Linked DNA regions of Homo sapiens: all the other regions are linked to region 1. The links are contacts of gene promoters, found by promoter capture Hi-C in human tissues and cell types (Jung and others, 2019). All regions are on one chromosome and are shown on one strand. Each heading gives the region's core, a stretch centred on a gene start or on the middle of the fragment in contact. The rest is flanking DNA. Distances are from core to core; before and after follow the strand shown.

What was found. The method cuts DNA at HindIII sites, captures the fragments that hold promoters and counts their contacts. A contact is called where the count stands out against the background at its distance.
Region 2: the fragment with the promoter of TOR1B here is called in contact with the fragment with the promoter of IER5L in region 1 in 5 of the 25 tissues and cell types used here (aorta, dorsolateral prefrontal cortex, heart right ventricle and 2 more).
Region 3: the fragment with the promoter of PTGES here is called in contact with the fragment with the promoter of IER5L in region 1 in 8 of the 25 tissues and cell types used here (IMR-90 fibroblasts, adrenal gland, aorta and 5 more).
Region 4: a fragment that was not itself captured here is called in contact with the fragment with the promoter of IER5L in region 1 in 1 of the 25 tissues and cell types used here (dorsolateral prefrontal cortex).
Region 5: a fragment that was not itself captured here is called in contact with the fragment with the promoter of IER5L in region 1 in 2 of the 25 tissues and cell types used here (H1 embryonic stem cells and lymphoblastoid cells).

What each region holds. Positions count from the first base shown.
Region 1 is chr9:129,176,248-129,180,204 of GRCh38, forward strand. IER5L (immediate early response 5 like) reads right to left here and starts at 2,014. Exons shown (of 1, transcript NM_203434.3): 1 at 1-2,014. The coding sequence starts at 1,805. The coding sequence ends at 591. RefSeq lists silencers at 169-318, 1,269-1,608, 1,839-2,218 and enhancers at 1,943-2,237, 1,975-2,898, 2,899-3,822. The HindIII fragment of the contact is 19,795 bases long and covers 1-3,957 here.
Region 2 is chr9:129,801,359-129,805,315 of GRCh38, forward strand. TOR1B (torsin family 1 member B) reads left to right here and starts at 1,826. Exons shown (of 5, transcript NM_014506.3): 1 at 1,826-2,053; 2 at 2,715-2,980. The coding sequence starts at 1,855. RefSeq lists silencers at 1,906-2,035, 2,096-2,215. The HindIII fragment of the contact is 20,911 bases long and covers 1-3,957 here.
Region 3 is chr9:129,750,985-129,754,941 of GRCh38, forward strand. It overlaps PTGES (prostaglandin E synthase), which reads right to left and starts at 2,058. Exons shown (of 3, transcript NM_004878.5): 1 at 1,903-2,058. The coding sequence starts at 2,028. The HindIII fragment of the contact is 20,404 bases long and covers 1-3,957 here.
Region 4 is chr9:129,720,302-129,724,258 of GRCh38, forward strand. It overlaps PRRX2 (paired related homeobox 2), which reads left to right. Exons shown (of 4, transcript NM_016307.4): 3 at 295-473; 4 at 1,916-2,373. The coding sequence ends at 2,051. Among named protein-coding and RNA genes, the nearest start is that of PRRX2-AS1, 3.6 kb to the left of the region's middle. The HindIII fragment of the contact is 3,172 bases long and covers 223-3,394 here.
Region 5 is chr9:129,696,274-129,700,230 of GRCh38, forward strand. The region is part of intron 1 of PRRX2 (paired related homeobox 2); the gene reads left to right. Among named protein-coding and RNA genes, the nearest start is that of PRRX2-AS1, 20 kb to the right of the region's middle. The HindIII fragment of the contact is 5,585 bases long and covers 1-3,957 here.

The DNA of each region.
Region 1 (3,957 bases), core at 764-3,263:
TTGAGAACTTTGGAGTCCGCCCCCAGAGAGGAAATGTGACCCAAACGTCCCTTTCGGAGATAGAGTTTGCCTTTGTTTTTGCTCAGAATTTCACAAGACCCATTCCTCACCCCACAGAGGGACTCGGGAGAGCGGAACGTCGGGCTTCCCGGGTCTGACAACTGATTGGAATCGGCTTCCCAGGTCCGGCGCCCTCCTGAGCTGCGCCCCCGGCGCGCCCCGGCGGCCAGGGCGCCCTGCCTCGCCCCCGGCTGCCCGGCACCTCCTCCGGGCAGCAGCCCTCCCTCACGTGGTAGGCTCCTCGCTAAACACCACTGCAATCACTACAATAAAAAGAAAAAAAGGAGTAGGAGAAACACAAAGCATACTTAAATAGGCGCTTTTTCTCTCTGCAAAAATAAAGTCCAAGATTTTAGATTTCTTTTTTTTTTATTTTACAATTTATAAAACATCAGCCGCCTGCCCCCGCTCGCCCCCAGCTCAGCCCCGAGTGGCCCGGCGCCCGCTCGTTCCCTCCTCTCGCCCCTTTGCCGAGTCTTTGTCTGGCCCCAGCCCCGCGGGGCCCCGGGTCCCTGTGCCCTCGGGGGTCCCTAGAAGGCGACAATGGCTCGAGTCCAGGCGCCGAGGCTGGCGAGCGCCTGCTTGGCGCACAGCTGCCCGTTGAGCGGCGGCGGCTGCTCCGAGGAGTCCGGCTGTCGGCTCACCAGCCCCGAGAAGCCGGAGCCAAAGATGGAGATCAAGTTTGAGATGTTGGACGCGTCCGGGGACGAGTCCGGGCAGAAGTCCTCGAAGCGGGCGCGCTTGCAGGGGGCGAACGGGGCGCCCCCGGGGGGCTCGGCCCCCAGCCCGCCCGCATCCTCCTCGTCGTCTTCCTCCTCCTCCTGGCCAGGGTAATACTTGCGCTTGCAGCCGGCGGCGGACGCCAGGCCCGGTCCCGGAGCGCCCTGGCCACAGCAGGGGCAGTGGGCGGAGGCGCAGCAGTCCTGGTGCAAGTAGCCGTTCTCCACCGTGGTCACCACGTGAGTGTCTAGGTCCAGCACGGTGGTCTGGCTGCTGCAGTGCAAGCCGAAGTCCGAAGGGGTAGGGTATGCGCCCCGGTAGAAGCCGGGGGAGGAGGCGGGGGCCGGGGAGGCGGGCGGAGAAGCGGCGGCGGCCGGAGGGGCGGCCCCTGGGGGCGCGGAGCAGGCGGCCGGGGCGCGAGGGTCCCGCGGGCAGAGCGCAGCGGGCGCGGGCGGCGGCAGCGGCAGCGGCAGCGGCGCAGGACCCGGCTGCAGAGGCTCCAAGGGCTGCCCGCGGTGGGGCGCGCCGTGCGGCGGCTGGAGCGCGGCGCACCCGGGCAGCTCCGAGAGCGCCCCCGCGCCGCCCGCGGGCGCTCCGGCCGCCGCCGCCGCCGCGCAGCCCCTGGGCGCCGGGTGCTGGTGCTGGTGCAGCTGCTGCTGGAGGTGCAGCTGGTGGAGCTGGTGGAGCTGGTGCAGCTGGTGCCGGGCGGCCGGCTCGCGCGCCTCCGCGTCCCCGCCGCCGCCAAGTTGGAGCGGGCCGAAGTCGGCCGCGCTGGCCGGCATGCCCGGCGCCGCGTACGCTAGGTGCTGGTGCTGGTGGTGGGGCGGCTGCTGCTGTTGCTGCTGCTGCTGGCGCCGGTAGAGCTCGGCGTAGCGCTCGCTCAGGTAGAGCTGGCGCGCGTTGCGGAGCACGTAGGACACCAGGAGGTTCTTGTGCAGCTTGATGCCGCCGCGCTGGGTTCGGGAGCTGTGGATCTTGCGCAGGGAGATGCTGATCAGGCTCTGGGCGTCCAGGGCGCACTCCATGCTCCCGCGGAGACGGCGGCGGAGCAGCCGCCGCCGCTGCTGCTGTTAACGCTTCTGCTGTTTCTGCCTCCAGCCGGCCGCCGGGGCGCGCCGGGCAGGGGTAACGGAGTCCGGGTCAGAGGTTCGGCTGCGCTCCGAAAGGAGCCGCCACCATGCGCCGCGCGCCACCCGCGGGCTCGCGCTCCCCAGACGGCGCCAAAGCAATGAGTCTCGGCCGGCCCCGGCCCCAGCTATTTAGCCGGGTGCCCGGGCCCCGCCCCACATGAGAAGAGCCAATAGGAGCTCTGAGAGTCTCCTGAGTGACAGGCGCAGCCCGCCCCGGGGCTACTCGGCTGGCCAATCAGACCAAGGCGGTTCCTTTGTGCTATTCAAATACCGAACGGACCCCGGGCCTCCAACGCCGCTGCTGCCTCGAATGTTCTCCTGGGGCTGCCGCGCCGCGCGGGACTCGGAGCCGCCGGGGCCGCAGTCTGCAGCATAGGTCGCCTGGCAGCGGCCACGTTGAAGCCCGCGGCTGCCCTCGCCTTAGGTCCCGGGAGCCGGGGGTCGGCTCACCTGAGTGCTGCGGCGACGGCTCCTCCCCTTTCCGCACGGCTGGGCCTCACCTGCGGCAGGTGCGCGCCGCTCATCGCTCCCCCAGCGGCGCGGCGCCTCCACCTGCGCACCTGTCGCCCCCCCGAGTGACCCGCGGGAGTCAAGGCCTCTCTACAGGAGGCTGGTGGAGCCGCCGGCTTGACACTGGGGAACATCAAAGGAGCGAGGTTTTGGGGGTACCCTCTACCGCAGAGAATGTAGGGCCTGACTCCTTGACTTTTTGGTCGAGGGGCCTCTGGGAATGCTTGCGGAAGGGAAGTCCTCCCCATTTGTCTGACAGGAAAAACCAAAACATCGTGAATTTTGACCTTCTCTGATGGAGAGAGTTCCGAGGCCAGGCATGACCCAGGGAGTGTGTGGACCTCGCGACCAGCTGAGGCTCAAAAGCGTCCTGGGAGCCGAAACGCTGAGTGCCCTAATCACCAGCTCTGTAACCTTTCCTTTCGTGCCTAACTAATAATAATGACAATAGGGACTATTATTATGGGCCTAATATGGGGCAGGCCCTTCCCAGCAACTCCCCAATGCCTCACTCTAACGTTTGTAGAGGAGGGGCCTGAGGCTCGGAGGAGTGGAGTGACTTGGGGAACCACACAGTTCCCAGGGGGCGGAGCTAGGAGCTGGGACAGGACCCTGCGCTCGAGACGGGAGGTGAATACCAAAGGCCCGGGGACTCACCGACTTAACTTCTGTTGACACAGCTTTCCTTCTTATCCTGAACCCTTCAGGTCCCAGCTGGGGACTGAGACAGTGGGAGAAGAGAGGGACAGGATTGCTGATTCCTGGGGGCGCTCTATCTGGACCAAGAGGCCTGAAGGGGGCTGGTTGCTGCTCCCAGGGGTTTCAAAGGTGCCTGGGGTGGGGGCTGCCCAGACAGCTCTGGAGGCTCTTGGAAATGGTCTGGAGGTTTGCCTGAGGAGGGTCCATGAGTGGATCCCTGAAGGATGAACGAGGTCTGCAGAGTCTCCCAGAGATAGGTGGACCTTGTGGGGCTGGACTCAGGGGGGAGGCCCATGACCAGACGTCCTGCTGCTTCACCGCCTCCTCAGGGGATCTTCTGAGTCTCTGCTTTTTGGGGCTTCCTTCTGAGTTCTCAGCACCTACTTCATCCCTTGGTGGGAGTGGAGAGACCCAGTAGCCCACCCTGTGGTCTCTGGGTCTTTCTTTAGTCTTAAGAATTTCCAAGATTTCTGCAAAAGTTTCTTAGCATCTACTCCATGCCAGGCGTTGAGAGTGAAGACAGAGTTAGCGGGTGTTTACTTCATTTTTCCGATGAGGAAACTCGGACACTGACAGCGTGAGACTTGCCCAAGATCACATGGCCCCAGGGCTGGTGCTGTGTCCTTCCCTTGGCCCCCTCGAACAATCTCAAACGCTTTGGGCCCCTGTGACCAATAGCACCTCTCCAGGCCTCCTCCCAGAGAAGCCAGGATTGAAATTTCAGGGGACTTCAGATAAAGGATGTCCTACCTACATTTTATTGGTGATACAGACCTACAGGCTGTGGAACTTGCTCAGGTGATAACACGTAGAAGTAAAAATACACTGCCCTTCACTT
Region 2 (3,957 bases), core at 576-3,075, 620 kb after region 1:
CACCTTCCAGTCTCTGCCTGATTCTTCATCCCTATCTCTCACCACCTTCCGCCATGTGGAATCCTTTCAGTTCTCCAAACTGACTGTTGTTTTCTGCCTAAAACACTCTACTCATTTTTTGCCTGGCCTAACTCCCTCAGTGCCCAGCTTAGACAAAAGCCTTCCCTGTACCACTGTCCGATACTTCTCTGCCCACTCAGCATTGAGTCTCACCCCTTTGTCGGCCTCCCCCATAGACCGTCAGCTCTGAGAGGGCAGGGGCCAACTCCGTCCCCTCCTCTGCTGTCGTTCCTGGCATCCAGCAAGGGGCCTGCCACCTAGCGTGCTGAATGAAAGAATGGACCTCGGGATTTCAGTGTGGAAGCCTGGGCAGGTCTGTCTTGGGGCCGCTGCATCCCCAGTGCTCAGTCTAGGGCGCAGCACGGAGAGTTCGCAACTGTTTCAGGAAGAAGGCAGGCGGGTGGGCCGACCCAAGAAACGCACATTATACCTCCGGCGAAGTGAAGGGAGGGATAACAAAGCAAAGCTTGAGGGCTCCGAGAAGCTCTGAAGAAAACAAATCCAGCCATAAGCCCACTCCTGTAACCCCAGGCTTTGGAAGACGGAGGCAGGTAGATCGCTTGAGGTCAGGAGTTCGAGACCAGCTTGGGCCACATGGCGAAACCCCGTCTCTACTAAAAACACAAAAGTTGGCTGGGCGTGTTGGCGGGCACCTATAATCCCAGCTACTCCAGCAGCTGAGATGGGAGAATCGCTTGAACCTGGGAGGAAGAGTTTGCAGCGAGCCGAGATCCTGCCACTGCGCTCCAGCCGGGGCGACAGAGCCAGACCCTGTCCCCAATATACATATCAGATAAGAAAAAAATATAAGAAAGTTTAAAAAAATTTTTTTTGGCTTTTTTTTGTTTTTTTTGAGACGGAGTCTCGCTCTGTCGTCCAGGCTGGAGTGCAGTGGCACGATCTCGGCTCACTGCAAGCTCCGCCTCCCAGGTTCACGCCATTCTCCTGCCTCAGCCTCCCGAGTAGCTGGGACTACAGGCGCCCGCCACCATGCCCGGCTGATTTTTTCTATTTTTCGTAGTGATGGGATTTCACTGTGTTAGCCAGGATGGTCTTGATCTCCTGACCTCGTGATCCGCCTGCCTCGGCCTCCCAAAGTGCTGGGATTACAGGCGTGAGCCGCCGCGCCCGGCCAGCCTTTTTTTTTTTTTTTGAGACAGTTTCGCTCTTGTCGCCCAGGCTGGAGTGCAGTGGCACGATCTCGGCTAACTGCAACCTCCGCCTCCTGGGTTCAAGAGATTCTCCTGCCTCAACCTCCCGAGTAGCTGGGATTACAGGCGCCCGCCACCACACCCATCTAATTTTTTGTATTTTTAGTAGAGACGGGGTTTCGCCACGTTGAGCAGGCTGGTCTCGAACTCCTGACATCAGGTGATCCGCCCGCTTCAGCTTCCCAAAGTGCTGGGATTACAGGCGTGAGCCACGGCGCCCGGCCAAAAAAAAAAAATTTTTTTTTTTTTTTTTAGATATTTTTTCACTCTTGTTGCCCAGGCTGGAGTGCAATGGCGTGATCTCGGCTCGGCCTCCCAAAGTCCTGGGATTACAGGCGTGAGCCACCGCGCCCGGCCCGAAAAAATTTTTTTAAAAGAAAAGGGAAACAAAACAGTCTCCTACACCTTCGGACCACTCCCAAGAACGATGGCACCGCCCTCCTCTCCGCCCCTCACCAACATGGCCGCCCCCAAGGGAGTGGGCGGGTCTGCGGGGCGGAAGTGACGCACGAGAGGAAGTCCGTCCTGCCGCTTGGCCGCGGGGCGCCTGGCTCAGTGGCTTCTGCGGGCTTCGAGGAGCGGGATGTTGCGGGCTGGGTGGCTCCGGGGCGCGGCGGCGCTGGCGCTGCTGCTGGCGGCCCGAGTGGTGGCGGCGTTCGAGCCCATCACCGTGGGCCTAGCCATCGGGGCCGCGTCGGCCATCACCGGCTACCTGTCCTACAATGACATCTACTGCCGCTTCGCCGAGTGCTGCCGCGAGGAGCGGCCGCTCAACGCTTCGGGTACGGCGCGCGCGCGAGCTGTGGGTCGGCGCTGCGGGGGGCGCGGGGGCGCGGGGGCGCGGAGGGACGGCCTCGTGGGCGCCTGGCACGGACCGGGCCCGTGGCATCTAGACGGCGGTGGTCCCAGCTGGGGTGGGCGGGGAGCGGATGGGGCGGCCCCGGAACCGTTCGCGGGAACGCAGAAGCGGTGCCTTCGCAAACAGTCTCCAGATCGTGGGGCTGCCCCAGCGCCTTTCTAAAGCTCCCGTTCCTTGGGATCACAGGTGGAAGAAACGGAAAGTAGGCGGGCGGCCCTTCTGCGCCCTGCCAACCCTATTAAGTAGTTTTCAGACGTGCTGCGTCGCCCAGAAAGCCCACATTTGGCCCCTGGTTTTCCTGCAGGTCAGCAAGGGTGGCTGGGATTAGCAAGCGCTCAGTCAAGCGATGGTTCATCTCTGAATGAATGAACATTTAGCTTCCTTATCAGACCCCGAAGCGTTAAGGACCTCCACATAATCTTGAAAGTGGCATCGTTTGACTGCCTCGGCCCTAGGGTGTGGCAGACACCCTGCTGTGTCCCTGGATAATCTGTGCTTCTTGCTTTGGCCAGCTAAGAAAGTGCTGCGTTGCTGATGCATTTTTAAGGTCTGTTTCTCTCTTTGTTCTGGGGCTGTTCTTGCAGCTCTCAAGCTGGATTTGGAGGAGAAGCTGTTTGGACAGCATCTAGCCACGGAAGTGATTTTCAAGGCGCTGACTGGCTTCAGGAACAACAAAAATCCCAAGAAACCACTGACCCTTTCCTTACACGGCTGGGCTGGCACAGGCAAGAATTTTGTCAGTCAAATTGTGGCTGAAAATCTTCACCCAAAAGGTCTGAAGAGTAACTTTGTCCACCTGTTTGTATCGACTCTGCACTTCCCTCATGAGCAGAAGATAAAACTGTACCAGGCAAGAGAACCCGCTATTATCTCGTCTGCAGGCCAGTCGGACTGGTCCGGGTGACCTGCTCACTAACTCTGGCCTCTGCTTCTCTTTCCTTTGTGTTGCTGTAGCCCCCGGCTCCACTGAGTTAAGGCACACTTAGTCCAGGTAGTTACAAAGCTCTCCTACAACATTTCTCTTACTTGGTTCCAAAACAGTCCAGTGGGGTAGGGGATGTTATTTCCATTAAAAGATGGGGAGCCAAGGGCCTGGCGCCGTGGCTCACGCCTGTAATCCCAGCATTTTGGGGAAGCCGAGGCGGGCGGATCATTTGAGGCCAGGAGTTTGAGACCAGCCTGGCCAACATGGTGAAACCCCATCTCTACCTAAAAGTACCAAAATTACCTGAGCACGGTGGCACGCACCTGTAATCCCAGCTACTTGGGAGGCTGAGGCAGGAGAATCGCTTGAACCTGGGTGGCAGAGGTTGCAGTGAGCTGAGATCGCGCCACCGTACTCGGTCTCAAAAAAAAAAAAAAAAAAAAGGCCTGGCACAGTGGCTCACGCCTGTAATCCCAGCACTTTCGGAGGCCGAGGGGGGCGGATCACGAGGTCAGGAGATGGAGACCATCCTGGCTAACACGGTGAGACCCCGTCTCTACTAAAAATACAAAAAATTAGCCGGGGATGGTGGCGGGCACCTGTTGTCCCAGCTACTCGGGAGGCTGAGGCAGGAGAATGGCCTGAACCCGGGAGGCGGAGCTTGCACTGAGCCGAGATCGCGCCACTGCACTCCAGCCTGGGCGACACAGTGAGACTCTGTCTCAGAAAAAAAAAAAAAAAAGAGAGATGTAGTCAGGGCCAGGTGCAGTGGCTCACGCCTGTAATCCCAGCACTTTGGGATCCGCCAAGGCGGGCGGATCACCTGAGGTCGGGAGTTCGAGACCAGCCTGACCAACATGGAGAAACCCCGTCTCTACTGAAAATACAAAATTAGCCGGGCG
Region 3 (3,957 bases), core at 808-3,307, 570 kb after region 1:
AAAGGCTCTGGGACAGGTTCACCTCCTCCCTTCCCCGAATTCGTGTTAAAAGGAAATCACAGCTGGGCACAGTGGCTCACACCTGTAATCCCAGAACTCCAGGAGGCCAAGATGGGAGGATCACTTGAGCCCAGGAGTTTGAGACCAGCCTGGGCAACATGGCAAAAGCCATCTCTACCAAAAACATAAAAAATTAGGAGCAGTGACGCACACCTATAGTCCCAGCTACTTGGGAGGCTGAAGTGGGAGGATCACCTGAGCCCAGGAAGTCGAGGCTACAGTGAGCTATGATCGCACAATTGCACTCCAGCCTGGGCCACAGAGCAAGACCCTGTCTCTAAAATAAATAAATAATAATTAAAAAAAAAAAAAAAAAAGGAATCGCTGGCCTGCTGGTAAGAACCCAGGCCTCAGCCAGGTGCGGTGGCTCACGCCTGTAATTCCAACACTTTGGGAGGCTGAGGCGGGTGGATCACCTGAGGTCAGGGGTTCAAGACCAGCCTGGCCAACATGGTGAAACCCCATCTCTACTAAAAATACAAAAATTAGCAGGGCATGGTGGTGTGTGTCTGTAATGCCAGCTACCGGGGAGGCTGAGGCAGTAGAATTGCTTGAACCCAGGAGGTGGAGGTTGCAGTAAGCAGAGATCATGCCGCTGCACTCCAGCCTGGACAGCAGAAAAAAAAAACAAAACAGAAACCCCCGCCTCCAAGACAGGATGTGGGCTCTGAAGCTGGACACTGGAGTTCAAACCGGGCTGTGTGACCTTCATAAGTGATGTCTCCTCTCTGAGCCCAGGTTCCTCACCTAGAAAACAGGATGACTATGGCGCCTCCCCTGCCCTCAGGGCTGTGGCGGGGATCTCATGCTCAGCTCCGGGCCACATTCGGTCCTCTGGGAAGGATTCAATGAGTGAATGCAGCTGTTCTACTTGATGCCCGGATCCCATATCCCAGGACCAGCCAAGGCAGGGAGAAGTCAGAAGCTATCAGTGTGCTGTAGCCTCCGGGCATCCTATCACTTGGGCAGCTGCCCTGCCTTTAATCCTGCCTGTACCTGCAGCAGGGCCTGAGCCTGGCTTGTGGCCAAGATCCTCACTCCCCAGGATCCACCCGCATGCAGTGCCAGAGCCAGCCTTGCCTCACCTCGCCTTTGAACTGGACACAGGGGAAGACAGAGACAGTTTCAGGAAATGATTGCTTTATTAAAATACCTGGGGAGGAAGTAACAGGTGCCTGGGGTCTTTCTGCATTCTGCCGCCAGGACAGCCGACAAGCTCAGCCTATGACTTTGCAGACTCGCCAACCAGTGTGACGGACGCTACTGGAACTTGCCCCGGCCCAGCTCTGGGACTCGTTAATGTTGTTTTGGTTCAGGGGCTCGGATTAGTGGGGAAATTCCTCGCTGAGCACCCCGACGGTGCCCGGCTGGGAGCTGGCCTTTGGAGGCTACAGTGGGCTTGTTAGTGACATTTGCCAGGAGTTGGGAATTTCCACTTAAACGTTTCTCGGACTCCTGTTTTGCCGGTTCCCACTCCACCCAGATATCAGACCTCCCGTGCCGGGAAGCCACCAGGTTAGACAGAGGCTTTGTGCTGTCACGCTCCCACACTCCACCCTCCAGAACCTGCTTCTCTCACAGACACTCGCTGGCTCTCTCCATGCCAAGAACTCAGCCCGGTGGCACGGCAAGCGAGTAAGTGCTCTTAAGCCAGAGAGGAGAAGGTGCAGGCCTTGCTGACACGTGGGACTGGCAGGAAGCCCCCCGGCGGGGCTGGAAGAGGTGCTCACCTCCCAGCCCTGCACACACCTTGGCCATGTTTCCCTATCCCGGGGCTTTCCTGACAGGACGTGGAGAGAAGCAAGTATGACCCAGGCCGGGGACCCCCAGGGAGGCACATACCTTCTTCCGCAGCCTCACTTGGCCCGTGATGATGGCCACCACGTACATCTTGATGACCAGCAGCGTGCTGCAGAGCAGGAAGGCCGGGAGGGCCGGGCTGCTCATCACCAGGCTGTGGGCAGGCATCTCTGGCCAGCGCAGCTCAACTGTGGGTGTGATCAGCTCGACAGAGGAGCAGCCTGCAGGGAAAGCACAAAGTGGGAGGGGAGAGCCTTCCTGCAGCCAGCACCGCCCACGCCCCGCCCCACGGCAGCGGCAGCAGGGCCCCCTTCTCCTGTGAAGAGAAAGACAAGCAGTTGCCGGAGCTCCAAGAAGCAGAGAGTCTCCGGGTGTCCCGGACCCAGTCCCTGGCTCTGGAGCCCTCCTTCCAGGCAAATCCTCAAACACTTTCAAATCTGTTTCAAAGCTGTTTCCTTATCTACAGTGTGGGAGCATGTGGTGGTGCCTGCCTTCTAGGGAATGATGAGGCTGGGCACCTGGCAGGACCTCTGCACGTGGTGATTATCGCTGCCTCCTGCCCACCTCCGCAGGGTCAGGGTAGGTGGTGGGCATGAGAACCACGCCATGCGCCCCCACACTCAGCCTGGACAATGGAGCTGCAGCCACAATGGCATGACTTTGCCATCTGTGGCAGGCTGAAGGACGCCCTCCACCCCTAAAGACATCCATGTCCCAATCCCTAGAACCCGTGACTGTGACTATGTGGCAAAAGGGACTTTTCACATGGGATTTCGTAAGGATTTGAGATGGGAGAAATTATCCTAGTTTATCTGGGTGAGCCCAGAGTATACAGAGGGGCCCTTCCAAGAGGGAGGCAGTAAAATTAGAGAAAAGATATAAAAACAGAGGCAGCATTAAGAGAGGAGATGAAAGGACAGAATAGGGGTCAGACAGGAGAGACGCTAACCTGCTGGCCTTGAAGATGAAGGAGAGATCATGGCCCAAGGAATACCAGGGGCCTCTAGAAACTGGAAAAGGGGACGAAACAAACTCTCTGCGTTCAGACAGAACGCAGCCCTCCCGACACTTTGATTTTAGCCCTGTGAGACCCATTTCAGGCTTCATCCACCAGAACTGTCAGAGAATGAAGCTGTGTTGTTTTAAGCCACTAAGTCTGTGGTAATTTGCTATAGCAGGGATGGGGAACCAGCACGTGGCTCCACTGACTTCCTGAGCATCACTTGACTATCCTGGAACTCTTTCCCCAGTCAAATGCTTTGATTCTTCATCACAAGATCTCCCCGAAAGACCTATCAACTGACTCTTCAGTAGAAAGCATCACCAGGCCGGGCGCGGTGGCTCACACCTGTAATTCCAGCCCCTTGGGAGGCCAAGGGGGACAGATTACCTGAAGTCAGAAGTTCAAGACCAGCCTGGGCAACATAGGGAGACTCCGTCTCTACAAAAAAATGTTTTAATTAGCTGGGCATGGTGGTGCTCGCCTGTATTCCCAGCTACTCAGGAGGCTGAAGTGGGAGGATCACCTGAACCCAGGAGGCTGAGGCTGCAGTGAGCCATGTTCTCACCACTGCACTCTAGCCTGGGTGACAGAGCAAGACCCTGTCTCAAAAAAGAAAGAAAGCATCAACGTTTGTTTTCTAAGATTCTTTGAATCCCTCACCTCAAAATCCTCACCTTGGCCAGGTGGCTCACACATGTAATCCCAGCACTTTGGGAGGCCGAGGGGGGCAGATTATCTGAGGTCAGAAGTTCGAGACCAGCCTGGCCAACGTGGTGAAATCCCCTCTCTACTAAAAATACAAAAATTAGCCAGATGTGATGGCAGACACCTGTAATCCCAGCTACTTGGGAGGCTGAGGCGGGAGAATCGCTTCAACCTGGGAGGTGGAGGTGCAGTGAGCCAAGATTGCACCACTGTACTCCAGCCTGGGCGACAGACCGAGACTCTGTCTCAAAAAAAATCCTCACCTTGCTGCATCCTGCCCGCTTCCCCGGGTTCTGGCAGGACCTCCACAAGGTCAGGGATCTTTTTTTTTTTTTCTTGTGAGACAGACTCCTGCTCTATCACCCAGGCTGGAGTGCAATGGCGTGATC
Region 4 (3,957 bases), core at 559-3,058, 540 kb after region 1:
TTCCCCGCGAGTGCTCAGCAAGCACCTCGCTCCCAGTGGCCGAGTGCCTCTCCATTCGTTCTCATTCTCCAACACATTCTCCATTCATTCTCCATTCATTGGTGTTCTCAATCTCCAACACATACCCAGCAGCAGGCGTCATTTGTCATCCCCATTCTACAGATGAAAAAACTGAGGGTCAGAGAGGTGACGCTGCCAGCCCTGGGCTGGTGACAGAGCAGGCACACACCCAGGTCCAGAAGGACTTGGGTCCCCCCTGCCCATGCTGCACCCTGCTCACCCTCCCACCCACAGGTCTGGTTTCAGAACCGCCGCGCCAAGTTCCGCAGGAATGAAAGGGCCATGCTGGCCAGCCGCTCTGCCTCGCTGCTCAAGTCCTACAGCCAGGAGGCCGCCATCGAGCAGCCCGTGGCTCCCCGGCCCACCGCCCTGAGTCCAGATTATCTCTCCTGGACAGCCTCGTCCCCCTACAGGTGAGAGCGGGAACACCTTTGGGCCAGGAAGGGGCAGCTCGAGGAATCCCAGAGGGCTTTTCCGGCCTGGACTCCTCTGAGGGTCTGGAGAGAGCTTGAATGGTGTCCACGCGCCCCTGGGATCTGGGGTACACCAAGTGATGTGTGGCGAGTGTGCCTGTGAGTGGGTGTTCACGAGCACCTGCACGTGCATGTTGTAAGAGTTGGCATGTGTGTGTGTGTCAACGTACATGTGGGCACACATGACTGTGAGTGTGCATGCACATGCCTGCGTATGCAAAGGAGCGTGCAAGCATGCGTGTCCACAGGGGTGTGAGTGTGTGCGTGAACACCTGGAGCCGGGAGAAAACAGGCCTATCTGGAGGGGGAGCAAAGTACAGGCATCACCCTGAGGGAGTAGAAAACCTGCAGGAAGATTCCTAGGCTGTCACGGGGGCCCCAGCGCCCTGTGTCCACCCTCCAGACGAGAAACTGACGCTGGGAGGGCTGAGGAAATGGTCTCCCTGGCCTGCGGGCATGGCTGGGGCCCAGAGCCAAGTTCTGGGGCAGTTTTGTCTGGATCAAAGCTGGAAAGACTCTGACATGGTCGGCAGGAGGTGCTCGAGAGTCGGGCCACCATACCCCACAGCTCCAGAGGCGCCGTCTGCTCCTTGGGCTGTGAGGGTGGCTCTGCTGGAGCCATGGTCATGTGGGGGGACAGGGATTTCGTGGGTCCGCTTGAGGGTTCTTAGTCCTCACCGCCCTCCTAACTTCCCTCCCTATTCATCGTTACAGGGGGCAGGAAAACCAAGGGGCATCCTTATTTATTTATGTATTTATTTTTGAGACAGAGTCTCGCTCTGTCACCCAGGCTGGAGTGCAGTGGTGCAATCTCGGCTCACTGCAACCTCCGCCTCCCAGGCTCAAGCAATTCTCCTGCCTCAGCCTCTTGGGTAGCTGGGATTACAAACGCCCGTCACCACGCCAAGCTAATTGTTTGTATTTTTAGTAGAGACAGGGTTTCAACATGTTGGCCAGGCTGGTCTCGAACTCCTGATCTCAGGTGATCCGTCCACTTCGGCCTCCCAAAGTGTTGGGATTACAGGCGTGAGCCACCACGCTTGGCCCCAAGGGGCATCCTTAAATCCAGGTGCCTGTTCATTCTGCCTCCATCCTGCTGAGAGCCAGGCCCAGGGTACGCATGGAGGGGGGCATGGACCAACCCAGGCCCTGCTGTCAGGAAGCTCATGGCTCATATGGAGGCTCCTGTGTCCCAGCACTGAGCTGGGGGGACTTCTGACTCCTGCCCAAACCCTACAGCTCCAAATCACCCCCAGTCCTGGGTGAAGGCTGCCCAGGAGAGCAAGCTAAGGAGGGGGGTGGCAGGACCAGAGGCTGGGGTCGAGCACTGATACCCAGAAGCCAACCGCACCCATGTGACCTGTGTCTCATGTCGCCCCCAGCACAGTGCCACCCTACAGCCCTGGGAGCTCAGGCCCCGCAACCCCAGGGGTCAACATGGCCAACAGCATCGCCAGCCTCCGTCTCAAGGCCAAGGAGTTCAGCCTGCACCACAGCCAGGTGCCTACGGTGAACTGAAGTCCAGTCCCACCAGGACCCAGACGCCTCCCTGGGTGGACAGCAATAGAAAAGGGGGCAGACGCCCAGGAAGTGACCTTCTCCTGGATGAGCTCTCCTGGCCCGTCTGTCCAGCCTGGACTCCCGAGCCCACGAGGCTGTTGAGGCCCCTGCAGCCGGGCCCAGCTCTTCTGTCCTTGGCCACCAGAGACTGCAGCCCACAACCCTTGGAGGGGTTGGGCCGGAAGGTGGAAGAGCCTGCCAAGGACCTCATTTAGTTTGTGTATTAAAACCAAAAAGCTTTTGTCTTTAAGAAATAAAACCATTTTTTTAAGCCCCAAAAGGTTGCAGGAAGGTGGGTAAGGGCCGCAAACAATGTTGGTGGCTGAGATGAGAGCTGGGACCCCACAGGGCTGGATGGCCTTCCTGGGCCCTTTTCTGGCCTGCAGCAGGCATGGAGACCGCCTCGGCCTGGCTCAGACCAGCAGCCATGGGAGGCCCACTGCCCTCATATCTGTACTGTTCCCGGGAATGAAGTCCTCTGTCACCCTGCAGGGCCCCCAGAAATGGGGGCTGGGGGGGTGGGAGAGGAGGACAGAAACCCACCCTAGACCCCATCTCCCATCTTGAGTCCCAAGGGGACACCCAGATGTTTGGGCAGAGCCTTGCTGTGTGAACCTGGGCAGGGATCGTCTCCCCATCCTATTGCGGGGCAGGATGGGTGATCATGGATTCCTAGACTGGCCAGAGGGTGTGTGGGACAGATGGAAGGACATTCAGTCCCTTGCTTCTGGGCACACAGAAGGCGTGGGATCTCTCCGGCCATTTAACCATGAAGGGGCTGAGGAAATGGCCCAGAAAACAGGTGCAGACTGTAGGTCCCGGCCAGGCTCCCAGGACAGCTGAGGCCAGCAGAAGACTCAAGTCCCTCAACCCACCCATTTGCAGCCAGTAACTGAGGGTGCCACCAGCCAGTGACACCACTTACGAGGGATCTGCAGAAAACAGGGGTGAGGGATGGTCTGAGGCCAGTCCCTCTACCTGTCCCCACGCCCACCAGGGAAGTCAGGAGAGCCTTTCTGCTCAAAGTCACCCCAGTCCAGCCCCCGGGAGGTAGGACAACACTCCCCCATCCCAGAGGGCACAAAGACGGTCAGCCCTGGGCAATGGTGGTGGGAACCCTGGCCCTTGGGGTGGCGGGGTGGCAGATGGCACAGCAAGGAATCTCGATGGAGTCAATGAGCTGGGCCAGTTCTCCAGTATCCCGCCCTGCCCATGCAGGGTCACCATGCCCCTAAAGTGCCAGCCATGGGGCTCCACACATGAGTAGTCTGCACGGGGACAACCTACTTTCTTTTTCTTTCTTTCTTTCTTTCTTTCTTTCTTTCTTTATCTATCTATTCTATTTTTTTGAGACGGAGTGTTGCTCTGTCGCACAGGCTAGAGTGCAGCAGCACGATCTCAGCTCACTGCAACCTCCGCCTCCAGGGGTTCAAGCAATTCTCCTGCCTCAGCCTCCCAAGTAGCTGGGATTACAGGCGTCCGCTGCTACGCCCAGCTAATTTTTTGTATTTTTAGTAGAGATGGGGTTTCGCCATGTTGGCCAGGCTGGTCTTGAACTCCTGACCTCAGGTGATCCACCCACCTCAGCCTCCAAAAGTACTAGGATTACAGGCGTGAGCCACTGTGCCTGGCCCCCACTTTAGTTAGAAGGTACAGCAGCTACACTTGTGAATAAAGTGAGGACCATCTCCCACCTGCCCCCAATACACCCCTGAATACTCTTCCCCATACTCCATCCGGATTTCCACCACAGAACGTGGCCCCTTCAGATGTGCAAACACACCTGGGGAAGAGTGACCGCCCGGTCGCTGTGTGACTTCTTCCTTCGGTGGCTGGACGGCTTCCTCCCTGGCCGCAGCAGGGC
Region 5 (3,957 bases), core at 936-3,435, 520 kb after region 1:
TTCTAAAGCAGGGCACCTTGGCTGGGCACGGTGGCTCACGCCTGGAATCCCAGCACTTTGGGAGGCTGAGGCGGATGGATCGCTTGAGCCCAGGGGTTAGGCACCAGCCTGGGCAACATGGTGAAACCCCGTCTCTACAAAAAATACAAAAATTGGCCAGGCGTGGTAGTGGGCGCCTGTAATTTCAGCTACTCTAGAGGCTCAGGTGGGAGGATCGCTTAAGCCTGAGAGTTCAAGGCTGCAGCGGAGCCCAGATCGCGCCGCTGCACTCCAGCCTGCGCCACAGAGTTAGACCCTGTCTCGAAAAAAATAATAGTAATAATAATTTTTAAAAAATACATTTTATAAAGCAAAGCTACCCTCGGTTCCCGGTTTGATAAGGGGTGGATTCCAAATAAGCAGCTGTCTTGCCGCCTTGCCAAGGGAAAGGAGCTGGGCAAATTCCTGCAGAGTCCCCACAAAGCTTCACTTTCCCCAGATGCTTGGGTGGGAGGACCCTCGCTAAGGGATCAAGGTTGCAGGTGCAGAGGGGGTCCCTGACAGAGGGAGGGCAAGGGAGGGGCGCCCCGGGTGAAGGTGACTTTGAGTTCCAGGTGTGTGGGCTAGCAGTTGAAGAGGGGGTGCAGCGCGGACCCCCCTGGGGCCAGAGTCCGATAGACCAGCTGAATGGCCGCTCTGCAGCTTTCTCGCTGTGTGACCTTGGGCGACTGACCTCCCTCCCTAGTCTCGGTTATCCCGACTGTTAAACGGGGACGGTAGCAGCAGTACCTGCCTCATAGGGTTACCGTGTGTGGAGACACGCCCATAGGCGCCCGGCCCGGCCTGGCCCTTAGCCTTGGCCTTGGCCGGAGCTGGACACGTAGGAACTGCCTTTGTCACTAATCGGGGGTTGGATTCCCTTGCACTCGGTGCCAGGATAGGAAAGAGCAGTCAGTCCTGGCTCCCACCCGGGACCTGCCTGGAGAGCGGGAGTGGAGAGGGAGGTGTCTGAGCTGGAAGGAAGGCGAGGAGGGAGCTGGCTGGGCTGCAGGGGAGCGCTGCGTCCCGCTCCCCCTCCCCTAGGCCGTGCCCCCTCCCGCCCGGCCGGGGCGCGCACCCTCGGAGCAGCTGGGCGGCGGCGGCGCGGGCAGCGCGGGGCTGGGCGCGGGATCTATTAACGTCTGTGTGTCTGGGCCGCGGGACTGCGGCGAGGCAGGCGCCAGGGGCTCGTCTGGAACCAGATGTGCCGCGGCGCCGCTCTGGCCGCCACCAGCGCGGCGCGCTCGCACGCACTGGCTGGCGCGCACATGGCCGGGCTGGGCGGCGGCGGCTGGCGCGCCGGCCCTGGCATCCCCTGGATTTCGGACCGACCCCAGACCCGCGCGTGCGGAGGGGAGACCCCCGCCCAGCAAGCCAGCTCCCCGTCCAGATGGGAAAGCCACCCACGAGACGGGTGGGGTCCGCCTCGCCCCTCGGCCCTGTCCCGGGGGAGGGAAAGATGGCTTCTCAGAAACCTGCCCCCCTGCTAGCGCCCCCGCTGTCTCCACCCCACAAAGGGCTGGGGACGCTTCCCCGCCCCCCGAAGTTTGTTTTCCTAAGTTTGTGCGTAAGATTTTTCAAAATTCTGAGTCAGAGCTTCCCCTAAGATGAGGCCTTTGGGGCATGCGAGAAACGCCAAAATGTGGGTGGGGGAGGGGAGCGTGGAGGTTGGAGGGTTTTAAGCGCCGGGATTCGGAAGGGGGCTTTTCACCCACTGGGTGAGTACAAGGGCTTCATTGAGGCCGGTCCCAGCTCCGCACCAAATCTGTCTTAACCACAAGGTGGTCCCTGGTCCTGGCTGCTGTCAGCACCGAGCCTTCCCGTCCCCAGGCAGCTTCGGGGTGCTCTGCCTTTCTGGACCAGCCCCTTCAGCTCTCTGGGCCCCCTCGCAGGGCCTATAAAGTGAGCAGTGGAGCTGGGAGCTCCCAGCAGGGGAGCTTAGGAGAAATGGGTGGTTGGATGGGGCGGGGGGGGGGGGGGGCGGGGGCACTTAGGCTCTGTCTCCATGGTTCTCCACCAAAAGGAAGCGTAAGACCAGGCGGTGGTGCTGCCAGGCCGGGCTGGGCCAGGCCAACCCAGTCTGGCTGCAGAGAAGAGGGCTTGCCCAGGGCTTGGGACTCAGCAGTTCCCCGAGTTCCCCCTGGTGTGCAGCCCTTCCCCATGATCGGGAGGAGGGTGTTTGGTGAAACACACGTGGCAAGAGCGGGTTTTTCCCGCCACGCCTGCCTTCCTTGTTCCGGAAAAGGGGAGCTGGGATGCTGGGTAGGGTGGGGGTGTCAGCCATGCACATCAACTCAGAGACTAATCCCTGCTAGGCGCGTGTGGGCAGAGGTTGAGACAACCCAGACTGGGCAGCCAAGGCTTTGGCCATTTGTCAGTACTGGGTGGACGCCCCCTCACGTCACTACCTCACGTCACTACCATCCCATCTGAGGCCCTATGGGCCCACTTCACAGGGAAACAGGCCCAGAGAGGAGCGGTCACAGGCTCAAAGTCACAGAGCTGGGATGTGGAGAAGGTAGGATTCCCACCCTGCCTGCTGGACTCCAGAGATGAAACCTTGGGCTTGGGATCAAATCTTCCTGGTGTCTGGAGGCTCAGGAAACAAGGTGGTTCGTTCCTAAACTCTAGGAAGTAGAGGGAGGATGCTGGCCCAGCTGGAGGGCCATCAGGATAGCCTGACTGTCCCTTCCCTCCCAGGGCATGCTGGAGGCCCTTCCCCACAGGAAGGCCGCTGTGCCTGTTCCTCTGACTATGAGCACCAGCAAAGCCAGGCTGAAGCATTTCCCTGTGGGAGGTGATTTCCCTAGCCCATGCTCTGGCCTGTCAATTAAAAAAATCCATCAATAGGCTGGGCGCAGTGGCTCACGCCCATAATCCCAGAACTTTGGGAGGCCAAGGTGGGCAGATCACTTGAGGTCAGGAGTTCGAGACCAGCCTGGCCAACATGGTGAAACCTCGTCTAAAATATATACACACAAAATTAGCTGGGCGTGGTGGTGCGCACCTGTAATCCCAGTTGCTTGGGAGGCTGAGGTGGGAGAAACACTTAAACCCAGGAGGTGGAAGTTGCAGTGAGCCGAGATCACGCCATTGCACTGCAGCCTGGGCAACAGGGCAAGACTCTGTCTCAAAAAAAATATATATATGTGTGTGTGTGTGTGTGTGTGTGTGTGTGTGTATACATATATCCATCAATATATTAGTTTCTGCAGATAGGAGGGTCCAGAAGTGAGAAGGCTTGTAATGGTGTATAGTGCATACAAATTTTCAGGTGTTTGGGCAAGCAGAGAATTGAGATTATGTTCCCATCAGGAGCCAAAATCCATTCATTCATTCACTTACATATTCATTCAGTATTTATTGAGGACCTGCTATGCATCCGCCCGGAATAAAGAATATCCAGTGTGTGACTGTGCCATGGCTTTCTACATGGTCCAGCCCAGCTTTCTGGGAAGCATCCACGAAGGATGAATTCTTTCCTTGGGCACCTTCAGGGCAGCCTCTGCTCTGTGTGTGTCAGTGCAAGCTTTGGGGAGGAAGTGTCCCAGGGAGCAGAGAACTTGGTCTCTGAGGCACCGACAGCAGCTGTTCAGGAGAGAGACCTCAGCGTGCCAGGCACATGGTTGCTTCTGCCTCTCAGCATCCCAAGTCTCCACCAGACAGTTACAAACCGAGGTCTAGAGAGGTTCAGTAAATTGCCTCAAAGCTGCACAGCCAATATACAGCAAGTGTGGGAGGGGAACGCACACGCACCTAACTCCAGATAAATATACTAATGGCTAACGTGATTTAGCACTTACTACGTGCCAGGCACTGCTTTAAGAACCTTATATATATATTCTTTCATTTAATTTTCACAACAACTCTGGGAGGAAGATCTTGTTATCCCCATTTTCTGGATGGGATAACTGAAGCACAGAGAGGTTGTAACTTCCT